Regions from separate parts of the Homo sapiens genome. Here all the other regions are linked to region 2. Evidence: promoter capture Hi-C in 16 types of primary human blood cells and fetal thymus (Javierre and others, 2016). All regions are on one chromosome and are shown on one strand. The core of a region is centred on a gene start or on the middle of the fragment in contact, and the rest is flanking DNA. Distances in the headings are between cores, read along the strand shown. Region 1 overlaps TERF2IP (TERF2 interacting protein). Region 2 holds the start of GLG1 (golgi glycoprotein 1). Region 3 overlaps KARS1 (lysyl-tRNA synthetase 1).

What was found. Contacts are between HindIII fragments. The CHiCAGO score rates a contact against its expected background, and 5 or more counts as called.
Region 1: a fragment that was not itself captured here is called in contact with the fragment with the promoter of GLG1 in region 2 in 1 of 17 cell types (monocytes); the score reaches 5.6 in monocytes.
Region 3: a fragment that was not itself captured here is called in contact with the fragment with the promoter of GLG1 in region 2 in 2 of 17 cell types (total CD8 T cells and activated CD4 T cells); the score reaches 7.4 in total CD8 T cells.

The regions. Positions count from the first base shown.
Region 1 is chr16:75,650,456-75,654,856 of GRCh38, forward strand. TERF2IP (TERF2 interacting protein) reads left to right here. Exons shown (of 3, transcript NM_018975.4): 2 at 3,818-3,942. Among named protein-coding and RNA genes, the nearest start is that of TERF2IP, 4.9 kb to the left of the region's middle. The HindIII fragment of the contact is 2,243 bases long and covers 1,875-4,117 here.
Region 2 is chr16:74,604,966-74,609,205 of GRCh38, forward strand. GLG1 (golgi glycoprotein 1) reads right to left here and starts at 2,149. Exons shown (of 26, transcript NM_001145667.2): 1 at 1,692-2,149. The coding sequence starts at 2,129. RefSeq lists silencers at 1,720-1,899, 2,130-2,319. The HindIII fragment of the contact is 13,128 bases long and covers 1,115-4,240 here.
Region 3 is chr16:75,628,936-75,633,112 of GRCh38, forward strand. It overlaps KARS1 (lysyl-tRNA synthetase 1), which reads right to left. Exons shown (of 14, transcript NM_005548.3): 8 at 2,758-2,920; 9 at 2,481-2,654; 10 at 2,233-2,318; 11 at 1,488-1,573; 12 at 480-606. Among named protein-coding and RNA genes, the nearest start is that of ADAT1, 7.7 kb to the left of the region's middle. RefSeq lists an enhancer at 535-1,734. The HindIII fragment of the contact is 372 bases long and covers 1,200-1,571 here.

The sequences.
Region 1 (4,401 bases), core at 1,746-4,245, 1.0 Mb after region 2:
ATAGCAGATGAGGTTAGGGCTATGTGTATGGGTGAAGTATGTCATCATGTATGGCCTTGCTTTTATTTTTATTTTATTTTAATTTTATTATATATCTTGAGATGGGGTCTTGCTCTGTCACACAGGCTGGAGTGCGGTAGTGCGATCACGGCTCACTGCAGCCTTGACTTCCCAGGCTCAGTGGATCCTCCCACCTCAGCTTTCCAAGTAGCTGGGACTACAGGCACTCGTCACCATACCTAGCTAATTTTTGTATTTTTTTGTAGAGACAGGATTTGGCCGTGTTGCCCAGGCTGGTCTCGAACTCCTGGGCTCAAGGGATCTGCCCGACTTGGCCTCCCAAAAGTGCTAGGATTCCAGGTGTGAGCCACCATGCTGTGTCTGGGACTTGCTTTTAAATCCGTGATGTTGGGGCTATTGGCAAGCCATTTGGAACTTGGGACAAAATTAAGCTGTATTCATCCTACCCATCTAAGTAATCTTTTGATAATCAGATATTTAAATGTAAAAATTAAAAAATTCTAAAATGAGTAAGAGAAGATATGAATGAATATATCAGTATGGTGGGAGTTGCTCTGAACCATTTGTGGTTCAGGATGCTGCCTGATTTGCCAGAAGAAAAAAAGTAAAAATATTAGCATGGTGATAAGTTATGAAGCCAAAAAGACAAAGAAAAAGTTTTATATATTTGATTACCTGAAAATTAAGAACTTCTCATGATAAATAAAGTCAGAGGGCATGCTGGAAAAACATTCCCAATACACTGCAATAGACTTAGTTTCTTTAATGTCTAAAGAGCTCTTTGTCATTAAGTAAGAAGTCATTAAGTAAAAAGAAAACTAATAGAAAAATGAGAAAAGGAAATGGAACAGGAAGTTCCCAGAAAAGGAAATAAATAAGCGGCCGATAAACAAATGAAGAAATAGTCTGTTATTAAATGAAAGTAAATCAGACCGAGTGCGGTGGCTCATGCCTGTAATCCTAGCACTTTGGGAGGCCAAGGTGGCAGACCACTTGAGGTCAGGAGTTCGAGACCAGCCTGGCCAACATGATGAAACTCCGTCTCTACTAAAAACTACAAAAACTATCCAGGCATGGTGGCATGCGCCTGTAATCGCAGCTACTCAGGCAGCTGAGGCATGAAAATTGCTTGAACCAGGGAGGTGTAGGTTGCAATGAGCTGAGATCAAGCCCCTGCACTCCAGCCTGGGTGACAGAACCAGACTCCATCTCGGAAAGAAAAAAAGAAGAAGAAAGAAAGTAAATCAGACCCTGAGCCTAGGGTCAGTATAAGCTATACTTTGACCCATGAGACCTGTGAGATAATAAATATGTGTGTTGGAATTGTTTTGTATTTATTTGATGAATTGAGATAGCTTCCATTATACAAAATAGAACAAAAGCTCCCCAAGTTATTTATTTTTTTTAACTAAATCAGAGCAAGGAGATGTTATACTTTATCTATAAGATTGGCAAAAGTCAATACAATGGGTAATATCCAAAGTTAGTGTATGGGAAAACAAGTATACTCCTACGTTGTTAATAGAAATTGATACAATTTCTTTGGGGGGCATTTTGACAATATCTGATGACATTTATAACGTATATTCCCTTAAACATGGCAGTTTTGTTCTAGGAATTTATCCCGTAGATATACTCAGAGTACAAATGGGTACATACTGAAAAGGCAGTCTCCCTATTTACATACCCTTTTCCCTGGGTCCTTTCCTAGGGGCAGCCTCTATTACCGTCTCTTGTCTGTTGCATGTCCCCTTTGCTCATAGTAATACTAGCACACTAGACATCAACTTAATCTGTGGTTTACTTTTTTTAAACTTAATTATTTATCTTGAAGTGTTTGTGTGTCTGCACAAAGCTTTTCCTCATTCTTTTCTAATTGATTGCACTGTATTTCATTATGTGAATGAACAGTAATTTACTTTTTATTATGGAGAATTCCAAGCATTTACAAATACAGAATAGTATAATGAACTATACTGCATATACCCATCACCCACCTTCACCTGATTTTAGTTCATGGCATTTTTTAAATCTATACTTTTCATCCCAACTTCCTGGACTGTTTTGAAGCAAATGCCAGACATCATATCATTTTATCTATTTTAGCATGTATCTCTCAAAGATAAGCCTCTTTTAGTTACTATTTAAGAATTTTATTAAATACATACAGTAAAATTAACTTTTTATGGTGTAAAATTATATGCATTTTAAAAACTTTATTTTTTATTGTGGTAAAATGTATATACCGTAAAATTTACAGTTCAGATAGTTTTTTAAGTGTTCTGTTCAGTGGCATTATTAAGTGCATTCACATTGTTGGGCAACTGTCACCACCATCTGTATCTAGAACTTACTCATTTTCTAAAACTGAAACTCCATGCCTTTTATTATTTTCTGCTTCTAGGGGTCAGAAACATGCCTATTAAACACTAATTCCCCATTTCTCCCTCCTCTTAGCCCCTGGAAACAACCATTCCGCCTTCTGTTTCTATGAATTCAATATTTCTAGATACCTCATACAAGTAGAATCATGTAATATTTGCCCTTTTGTGTCTGGCTTATTTCACTTTACATAATATCTTCAAAGTTCATCCATATTGTAGCATGTGTCAGAATTTGATTCCTTTTTAAAGGTGAATAATATTCCATTGTATGTATATACTACATTTTGTTTTTCCATTAATGTATCAATTGACATTTGGCTTATTTCCATCTTTTGTTTATTTTGAATAATGCTGCTGTGAACATGGGTATAACTAGTATCTGTTTGAGACCCTGCTTTCCATTATTTTAGGTATATGCCTAGAAATGCAATTGCTGGATCATATGGTAATTTTATGTTTAATTTTTTCTTTTTCCTTGTGGGTTGTCATCATGAAATTATATTGAATTTTTTGAGGAACTGCTGTACTCTTTTCCAGTTATATGTGTTTTAACATAGGTAAATTTTTGTAACCAGCACCCACATTGGGATTTAGAACAATTCCATCACGAAAAACTCCCTCTTGCTGCCCCTTTGTAGTATGTTTTAGTAAGTAGAAAAGGAGCAGAGTTAAATCTTCAGAGAACAAAATGTAAAGGAAAGGAACAGGATGTTTAAATTTAGGAGGCCCTCCTTTTTGTAGATGGTATATTGGTGGATTGTGGTACGTGGCCCAGATCTGCCTTTGGCTGCTAGGAGAGCTGCCTTGCCCAAACTCCTGTCTTCTTAGGGCTGCCACCATCCAGTGACTGATATTTGCAGAGTTACAAAGTCTGCTCCTTGGCCCCAGCTTGGTCAGTTCTGAAGGGCCTTCCTAGCTCCAGAGTTGCCCATGGTTTTGGCTGAGGTCTTGTTGAAACTCTTTGATAAGTCAGCTTCTCTCTCTGCCCACTCCTGCTCTTCCACAAAGGTTTTCCCAAAATCACTTCCCAATTCTTTAAATTTCCATCTCCATCTCAGAATTTGCTTCCCAAGGAACCCAATTTATGACACATTTTTATTAATTTGCAAAGTCTGTAACTACAAAGCAAAAAATGAATTAAACTTGAGCATTTTTATATGTCAGAGTTTAAGAATGTATCATTGTTTGGATAGTACATCTTTTCAGAAGCAAGCATAGAAATGGGTGAATGAGCACGTCCTAGGCTTTTTTTACCCTTCTGAATCAAGAACAGATGTCTTCTGATAGTAAAAAAAAAAAAAAAAAAAAAAAAAGTGCAGGCTCACTCCTGGCCCAGAGCTCACACAGCAAATATATTTTTGGTTTATGTAAAAGAGGCTATTGCTAATCTGTGCTGTTCTTCTCTTTAACAGAACCACAGAATAAGAGAACTCCAGATTTGCCTGAAGAAGAGTATGTGAAGGAAGAAATCCAGGAGAATGAAGAAGCAGTCAAAAAGATGCTTGTGGAAGCCACCCGGGAGTTTGAGGAGGTTGTGGTATGTTAACTAGATTTACTCATTATTTTTTTCCCTACCTTCATTCTTCTTTGAAACTGGTTATCCTGTACACCTTTTTCATCTACCTGGGGCTCAGGAAAGTGAGAGAGGAGTTCAAGATGGAAAGGGAAAATGGAAAATGGGACTGATCTGGGCTTCAGACATGTTGCCCTGAAGCTTTTGCTTCACAAAGCTTTTAGTTTTTGGCAGGACAAGTTGAGGGGGAAAGGGAGAAAAATTGGGTAGAATAGGGACAGTTGTATAAACAGTATAAAGCATCCCACTTTGAGTACTTTAATGTCAATATATTTTTCAAAAAGTTTATAGTAATTGTTTTTTCTATTTTTTTGAGCCAGAGTCTGGCTCTGTCGCCCAGGCTGGAGTGCAGTGGTGCGATCTTGGCTCACTGCAAGCTCCGCCTCCTGGGTTCACACCATTCTCCTGCCTCAGCCTCCCGAG
Region 2 (4,240 bases), core at 899-3,398:
AAGCCGGGAGGTGGAGGTTGCAGTGAGCCAAGTTCAAGCCACTGCACTCCAGCCTGGCGACAGAGTGAGACTCCATCTCAAAAAAAAGAAAAGAAGTTTAAAAATAACTCCACCTCCTGAAGAATACACATAGGTGTTCACAGTACTCTTCCTTCATTATTTCTGTATGTAAAAACTGGAGGAAAAAACATTAAATTGGAAATTTGGTCCCTCCACCTCCCCCCAACCCCCCAAAACCCCCATTTCCAATTTATATGACGCCTTTCCTCCTCTGGAGCATAAAACTGCCTCCTTTAAGTGGAGGTTTCCAAATGTCCGGAATACACATGAAGGATATATACACTCCTTGAATAGGCCACTTTTTGCCACTTTCCCTAATAATGTGCTGTTTCTACCACAAACTACTACTAATTGTTTGGTCACCAGTATTAGGATCCTAGTTTGATGAAACGACATCTATTATGTGTCCTCAAAGAGCGAAAAGAAAATTCCAAAAAGTTCGACAGAGTTAGGAATATTAGCTGTATCTACCAGAGGACTATCCCTCTAGTCGTTAAGCTGAAGATGAGAAGTCAGGTAAGGCCTCACATTTCTAGGGGCTCTGGAAACTTCCTTTCTTTCTGTCTCCTGCTTATGTATGTCTTTTCCTCTATCTGAATTGCTTTTGTATAGAATACTAGAACACGAGATGAAGGGGGGAAATGCCAAGAGAAGCAAATTTCTACAAGCAAGTGGTCTTGCTATAGCTTGAACGCCTTAAACAAATCTGATATTTAAAAAAAAAACCAAAAACAGTATCAAGTGGTAGCTTCATTCTATTTGTCCACCTTTAGGGCTAATTTTATATACCTACACCTCTGGAAAAAGTTACTACTGTCAGATTTGCTCCCAAACTTTGAGAATTGTCATTATGGTCTGCAGCATTAAACCTAGATTATAAATTATCAATGTCACTTGATTATAAATTATCAATGTCACTCAACTGAATCACACCAAGCAACGACAAATGTAGATTTCATTAAGAGATACTGTTAAAATCACATTCAGACCTCAGAAAGGCAAGATCCCATAACCCAGTCACAAACACAGCTTCAAACGCTTCCCCAACTTTTCAAGCTTTGGGGCGCCAAGTCACTGGGAGTTAACAGCTTAAACATGGGGTTCAATACAACTGACCAAAGGAAGTGAAGAAAACAAAGCATACATTAATTTCAGCACCAAAAATATGGATTTGCGAATTACATCTACTGCTAATAAACAGATCATTCTTTACAGCCTAAGTACGCCAGGCATTTTTTTATGTTTAAATGGCTTGCCACAAATTGTCCTAGTCGAAACTGATGGCAAAATCCTAAACTGATCTTCGGCGAGGAGACACTCTGCATAGAGCATCACACAAAAGACAGGAGCGAACAGACACGCTCTGGGCCTCGGCGGATTGCGGCCAGGAGCCCAGGTTTTCGTCCCAGACCCCGGCAACAGGGAGGGAAATAAGGGCGGGGGAAAGAAGGAGTGGGAGTGGTATCCTTTTCCCTGAAAGCGCCTGGGAGTGAGGAGCAAAGAGGGAAGGAGCGAGTGCAGCACAGAGGAAGCAAGGAAAGCAGCCGACCGGCGTCAGCGGCTTCCAAGGCCGGCAACACCCTCGGGCCCGCACCAGGCCTGGCCCTCCCGGCTTCGTCCCACCTCCTCACCTCCCTCACATCCTGCAGGCACTCGAGCACCGCCAGGTTGTTGCTCCAGGTGTGCTTAGGGCACACGCGGGTCACGTCCTCCCTGCAGGACTCTTCCTCCGCCAGCTTCCAGCCCCCACCAGCCCCCGCTCCTCCCCGCCGGGCCGGAGGCCCACCCGCCGGGAAAGGCGGCTGCGGCGGCTGAGGCTGCTGTTGCTGTTGCTGCTGCTGCTGTTGCTGCTGAAGCTGCGATGACTGAGGCAGCTGGGGCAGCTGCTGACCCGCCGGGCCGCCGCCTCCGGCCTGCCCTACGAAGGACACAAAGTTGGCCCCGGGACCCTGGCCCTGGCTGTGGACGCCCTGGCCGGGGAGTTTCTCGGCCCCGGCCGCGAATAGCAGCAGCAGATGCAGCGCCGCCGACAAGCGGAACATCCTCCGTACACGTCCACACGCCGCCATCTTGAGTCCGCGGCGAGCTCGACGCACTCGCCGGCGCCGCGTATTTAAATGAGGGGGTGGAGACGCTGGGCGTGGCAGCGTGGCCCTGCCGAGCCCCGCCCCGCCGGCGCCGACCCGCGAACCCAGAGTGGGGCGAAGGAGGAGGCCGTGCTGGAAACCGCACACACCCTGGACCGGCGGGCGGGAGAGCGGCGCTCCTTACCCGGGGGGGTTGCTGGGGTTTCTTAAAAAGCCCGGGCAGGGCGGCCTACTCTAATTCCATTTGCTGTCACAAAAAAAAAAATCAAGGGAATTGGGGTTGCCACAACCAAAATGGCCGGTAGAATATGTCGCCGGTTCAATGACTTGGAAAACAAAAACTTTATATGTAGAGGTGAACTTTGCACAACCAGGTGTATTACGGAATCGGAAAGCCTCTCCTTGTATCGCTCCCTCCTTCCTTCCTTCCTTCCATCTGCCTCAGAAGTCTTTCTTAGCCAAAGAGAGAGACAGCATTGAATAGGGTTAAGAGCATAAGTTCTGGGGTAAGAAAAAAAATTAAGGTTATAATCCTTGCTCTGGCAGGGTACGCAAGAGCTCAAATGTAAAGTACCATTGGCAAGATTCGAAATAATAATTTAAGTGCCTGGCCCACAACACTGAACTCAAAAAGTCACAGCCAGTATTGTTAATAAACTGGGAAGCCGTTTATGCATGAATCCTGATTTTAAGCCAGCATTTAGATTCATGTTTAAAGGATGAAAAAATAATAATAAAACACATCTTTGAGGACTCGGGTTAAGTCTGTGTGTCGGTAACTGTTCTCATTGACCTGCATGCAACACCGCAGGCACCCCACACTAGCATCCCCTCCCTGTCCTTAGGAGAGAGGATATGTTCCCAAAGCCTCTTCACATCCGCTGTGTAATCTGAGCCATGCATCAGGCCTGCGTTAGGTTCTCATTTAACTGAAGAATGGCACAGAGATGTTAACAGTTCTGCGTGGAGGGATTAAATGAGCTGCCCAAGAGGAACTCTGCCATCCTGTAGACAGCTAGGCTAGCCACCAGAATCCCTGGGGCTTCCCACCACCCTGGCGCACTTTCATCCCACTCTGTCCATGCACATGTTGGGGAATGAGGGCAGTTTGGGTTGTGTAATCTCCACTGGTCATTGTGTCCAAAAATGCGAATTACATCTACTGTAGTAAACAGACAGCTTCTGCTGTCCTGACCCGCAAATGAGCAGTCAAGACCAAGTTAGACATAACTAGAACCTGAAAAGTCAGGAGCTCAGGGAACCCAAAAGGAGCTCCTGAGACTGAAGATATTCTGTGAGTACAAATTACCCACTGTGGCTGACCCCAGGCCTCTATCATGGGGAATGAGAGCTTGTTGGCATCTCCACCAACGGTCACCTTTGCTACTGTCATAAAATGATCATGAGGCTGCTGCTAACCTTGAGCACTGACTAAGGCAGCCCCATGTTTATTAGCAAACACATGGCATAGGTAAGTTTCAGTCAGGCAGGCTGGACACATCACCAGAAGTCCTTGAGATGTCACTAGCGTATGTTAATTTTTTTTTTTTTTTTTTGAGACGGAATCTCACTCTGTTGCCCAGGCTGGAGTGCAGTGGCGTGATCTCTGCTCGGAGCTGCCACCTCCACCTCCTGGGTTCAAGCAGTTCTCCTGCCTCAGCCTCCGAGTGGCTGGGATTACAGGCATGTGCCACCACACCCAGCTAATTTTTGTATTTTTAGTAGCGACGGGGTTTTGCCATGTTGGCCAGGCTGGTCTCGAACCCCAAACCTCAGGCGATCTGCCCACCTCAGCCTCCCAAAGTGCTAGGATTACAGGCGTGAGGTACTGCGCCTGGCCTCCATTAATTTTCAATGCTGAGTCTGCATGTGTTCAGACAAGTGGGAGATTATTTTAAGCCAGTTTAACTAGAAATTGACAATCCTAGATAAGCCATCAGTTACTTATCTTTCAGCCTGAACTGAGGAAACCACAGCCACAGATTGCCTCCAGAGATAGGGAGGAGTACACATGGCTATCTTGAAATCTCAGTCACCAAGAAGCAAGAAACAGATAAATCTGGGAACCTGGCCAGCTCAGGCTGTCAGGCAAG
Region 3 (4,177 bases), core at 136-2,635, 1.0 Mb after region 2:
TTTCTCTGAAAGAAAACCCTTCTGCTGCTTGGGGCTCTGGGACTCCAAACAGGTTAATTCTCAGAGACTGTGACAATTACAAGAGTCTTTCTCCCATTTCCTGAAAACAGCCCTGTCAACACCTGCTGCAGGCAGCCTGTGGGGGTTCTGTCTTCTCCATTCATCTCTACCTACCTCCCAGCCCTAAGCCACCTTAATACATGTACAATCTAAGAAAATAATGTTCTTGCTTGGCAAGTGTATTTTCAAGGCAAGCGTCACGCTTTCCATACGGAGATTAATAATGAAGTTCCTCTTATGTACGACAGACTCAATACCAGATGAAGTCACCATCTTGAAATGTGACTCCTCCAGCAAGCCTATGGCTTTATCTTTCACTTCTGAAGTCACCAAGAACGTATACGCTGACACAGATCAGGGTTAAGGCTGGTATTTCCTGGTGAGTTGGCACAGCTTCTGCTCACAGTCCCCTTTCTCACCTTGGCCTGTTCTTCAAAAAGCTGCCGCTGCCGCATGGGATCATTCAGCTCAGTATACGCATTGCATATCTCTTTCTTCATGACAAACAGCTCAAAGCGCTCAGTCAGACCCTCTTTAGAGCGGTGCCTAGGGACAGGAGACCAAAGAGGAGGCTGAATATAGAGGCCCCTAATGAGCTAAATTTTGTTTTTTCTTTTTTTTTGAGACGGAGTCTCGCTCTGTCACGCAGGCTGGAGTGCAGTGGTGTGATCTCGGCTCACTGCAACCTCTGTCTCCTGGGTTCAAGCACTTCTCCTGCCTCAGCCTTGAGTAGCCGGGATCACAGGCCCATGCCACTATGCCTGGCTAATTTTTGTATTTTTAGTAGAGACAGGGTTTCGCCATATTGGCCAGGTTGGTCTAACGATCAAACATCTAATACAATAATTGAATTCTAGTGGACTCAAAAGTGTTACTGATTGCAGTCAGAAGCCTGCATGCAGTCTCAGCAACAAATCATTTGGTACAACGGTGAGGAGGGTGAGAGAGACCAGGAAGGTTTAATGATCTTCCTAACAGGCCAGCGGGCAGACTGTTAAAATGGACCACACCTCTTGCATTCATGCCCATGTGTAGTCTCCTTCACCTGGACTCTGCGCTGGCAACATGTCTTGGTTTGGCCAATGGGTTATCACCAGAGGCTTGATACGTGTTTGCACAATGAGGTCTGTTCTTTTGGAAGCTTCCCCTTAGAGCCCAACCACCATGCTGAAGGGAAGCCCAGGCTGTGCTGCCAGACAGGCCACATGAAGAGGCCCTGGAGGATAAGATCGTATGTGGAGTGACCACGTGGAGGAGAACCAAAGTGCCCTGGCAGAATCCCCAGTTGAAAAAAAGCCACTTGGGTTACCCTGGTCAACACCACCCAGCAGAAAGACCACCAGTCAAACCACAAAATCTTGACAATAAATTGTTAACACCACTAAGTTTTGGGGCTGTTATGCAGCAATAGGTAACTGGAATCTTACCATTTAGCCAAAGGGCTCATTATCTGTGGGTGATCACAGATGAATGTAGGATTGATGCAAGTCACTTCCAGGAACTCCCCAACAAGCTTAATGAGAAAGCAAAGCAGAGTCAGTCACCATTTCTGAATAGTATTTGATCGTCCCAGCCCAGACAGAAGATCTCAGCTCCCATCCAGATGGGTTTATCCTATAGCTTTTTATTTATTTATTATTATTATTATTATTATTATTGAGATGGAGTCTCGCTCTGTCGCCCAGGCTGGAGTGCAGTGGCATGATCTCGGCTTGCTGCAACCTCCGCATCCTGGTTCCAGTGATTCTCGTGCCTCAGCCTCCTGAATAGCGGGGATTACAGGTGCCCGCCACCATACCCAGCTCATTTTTGGATTTTTTGTAGAGACAGGGTTTCACCATGTTGGCCAGGCTGGTTTCGAACTCCTGACCTCAGGTGATTCATCTGCCTCGGCCTCCTGAAGTGCTGGGATTACAGGTGTGAGCCACCATGCCCACCCTACCCTATAGCTTTTTAAAAGCTGGACGGGATTAACTGAGATCACACACATAAATTATTTGGCACAGAGCTTAGTATGACAGTTAAAAGTCTGTTAATTCTCTTGTTCTCTCTCTAGGGTTTTCCTGTGAAGCTGCAGAAATGAACTCTCCCCAGTGGGGTTCATTTTCCCAGGGAAGAGGGAACCATTCAGCACCAGATGAGGACATGTACAAGAAGGCAGGGCCTTCTCACCTTGTCAAGGAGCCTGGCTGTGGTCCGAGGTGGAGGGCATTCAACAGCTTTTGCCACACAGATATCATCAAGAATTTTGCGAGTTTCTGGGACACAAATGCAAAAGTTAGGGCAGGAGACATCACACTAGCCAAGTAAAAATGTACATAAAGAGAATAGTGTGGGAAATTCTAGCTCTGACCCAATCAAATTCAGAGCTGAACAGGAAGGAGGGCCTTACAACGGAGGAGTGAGTGTTGTCACTTTACCTTCAGTTTCAAAGAGGTTCGTTTCTGGCAGCTTCATCCCCAGGGCTTTCTCAAGCTCTTCTACCATGTTGATTCGCCGGAAGGGTGGGGTGAAGTCAACATCGTAGGCTTGGCCCTCTGGGCCATCTGGGTGGTAGGTGACCTTGTAACTGCCTGTAATATGCTTCACCATCCCTGGGAGAGAAACCTGTTATTTAGCGGGAATGAAATCCAGGCAGCCCTCCTCTGAAAGCAGCATACCAACCACCCGATGAGTATGAGAGAGAGCAGGAGTCACCTGAAACCATCTTCTCCGTGATTTCCATGAGATCGTGATAGTCTGCATAGGCCATGTAGAACTCACAGGTGGTGAACTCAGGATTGTGCGTCAAATCAATCCCCTCATTCCGGAACTGGCGTCCAATTTCATAAACCCGGTCGATGCCACCAACCACAAGCATCTAACAACAACACATGGCCACGGTCATGACAGCTAATCTTTTTTTTTTTGAGATGGAGTTTTGCTCTTGTTGCCTAGGCTGGAGTGCAATGGCAAGATCTCAGCTCACCGCAACCTCCGCCTCCTAGGTTCAAGCAATTCTCCTGCCCCAGCCTCCCTAGTAGCTGGGATTACAGGCATGTGCCACCACGCCTGGCTAATTTTTTTGTATTTTTAGTAGAGACAGGGTTTCTCTGTATTGGTCAGGCTGGTCTCGAACTCCCGACCTCAGGTGATCTGCCTGCCTCCGCCTCCCAAAGTGCTGGGATTACAGGCATGAGCCACCGCGCCCGGCCCCATGACAGCTAATCTTGTATTAACAGCTCTGGGAAGTTTCAGTCTCCAAAAGCCGTAACTTGGTTTTCACAGGTTAGGTATACTCTCAGGTCTCTGGTCAAATTGCCAAGCACCCTGCTCTCTTTATACCCTTGTAGTGTGGATAGTTACCCCTTTTTTGGCTGCCTAGGACTTCTCGATACTCTTCCTGTCTTGGGCATCCCCCATCATTGAGTCTGAACCTCCCCAAGGAAGCAGCCTCTCTTGGGGTTAGGCTGCAGGCGTGTGACCCAAGCTCCACCAGTCAGATACACTTGTGAGACTTCAGCATGGAAACTACTAACAAAAGATGTGGGTATTGCATAGAATTCATTCTGGTGAAGGGGGCCAGTCACACGTAGCTTTTAGATTGCAGAGGTCCTAGCGGCAATGACTTGTGCCTAGTGCCAGGATTATGAGCTGTAGTAACTGTGCCTACTAGGAAAATACACTGGGTTCTCCATGAGAACAGCCCATTCTAATATGACTCAGAATCATTCCTAGTTGTATAGTTTCCAAGCCTGATTCTCTGATCCTCCTGGGGACTGTGAGCTTCCTCTATGTTGGGATTCACTCAGGATGGTGGCAGAAATATTAAAGGGAAATATTGGGGAAAGTTATAAGGAATAGTCACAAACCTTTTGGAAGGCCGAAAGGTTACGTAGCTTGTAATAACTGAACAGGCTGAAGGCAGCCAGTTCTTACCGTACAGCATTAGGTCATAGGGTAAATACTACGGAAAATAGAGGCTTCCCCAGTTAAGTCTGTTTACCCTACCTCCATTAACTAACCTTTCAGCCAGATGGCCCTCTTGGGGGGAGGTTGACCAAAGATACTGCTCCCTAATGGTATTTACTTTAGACCATGGTACCTGGACTTTAATAATTCCTAGAACTCCTCTCTT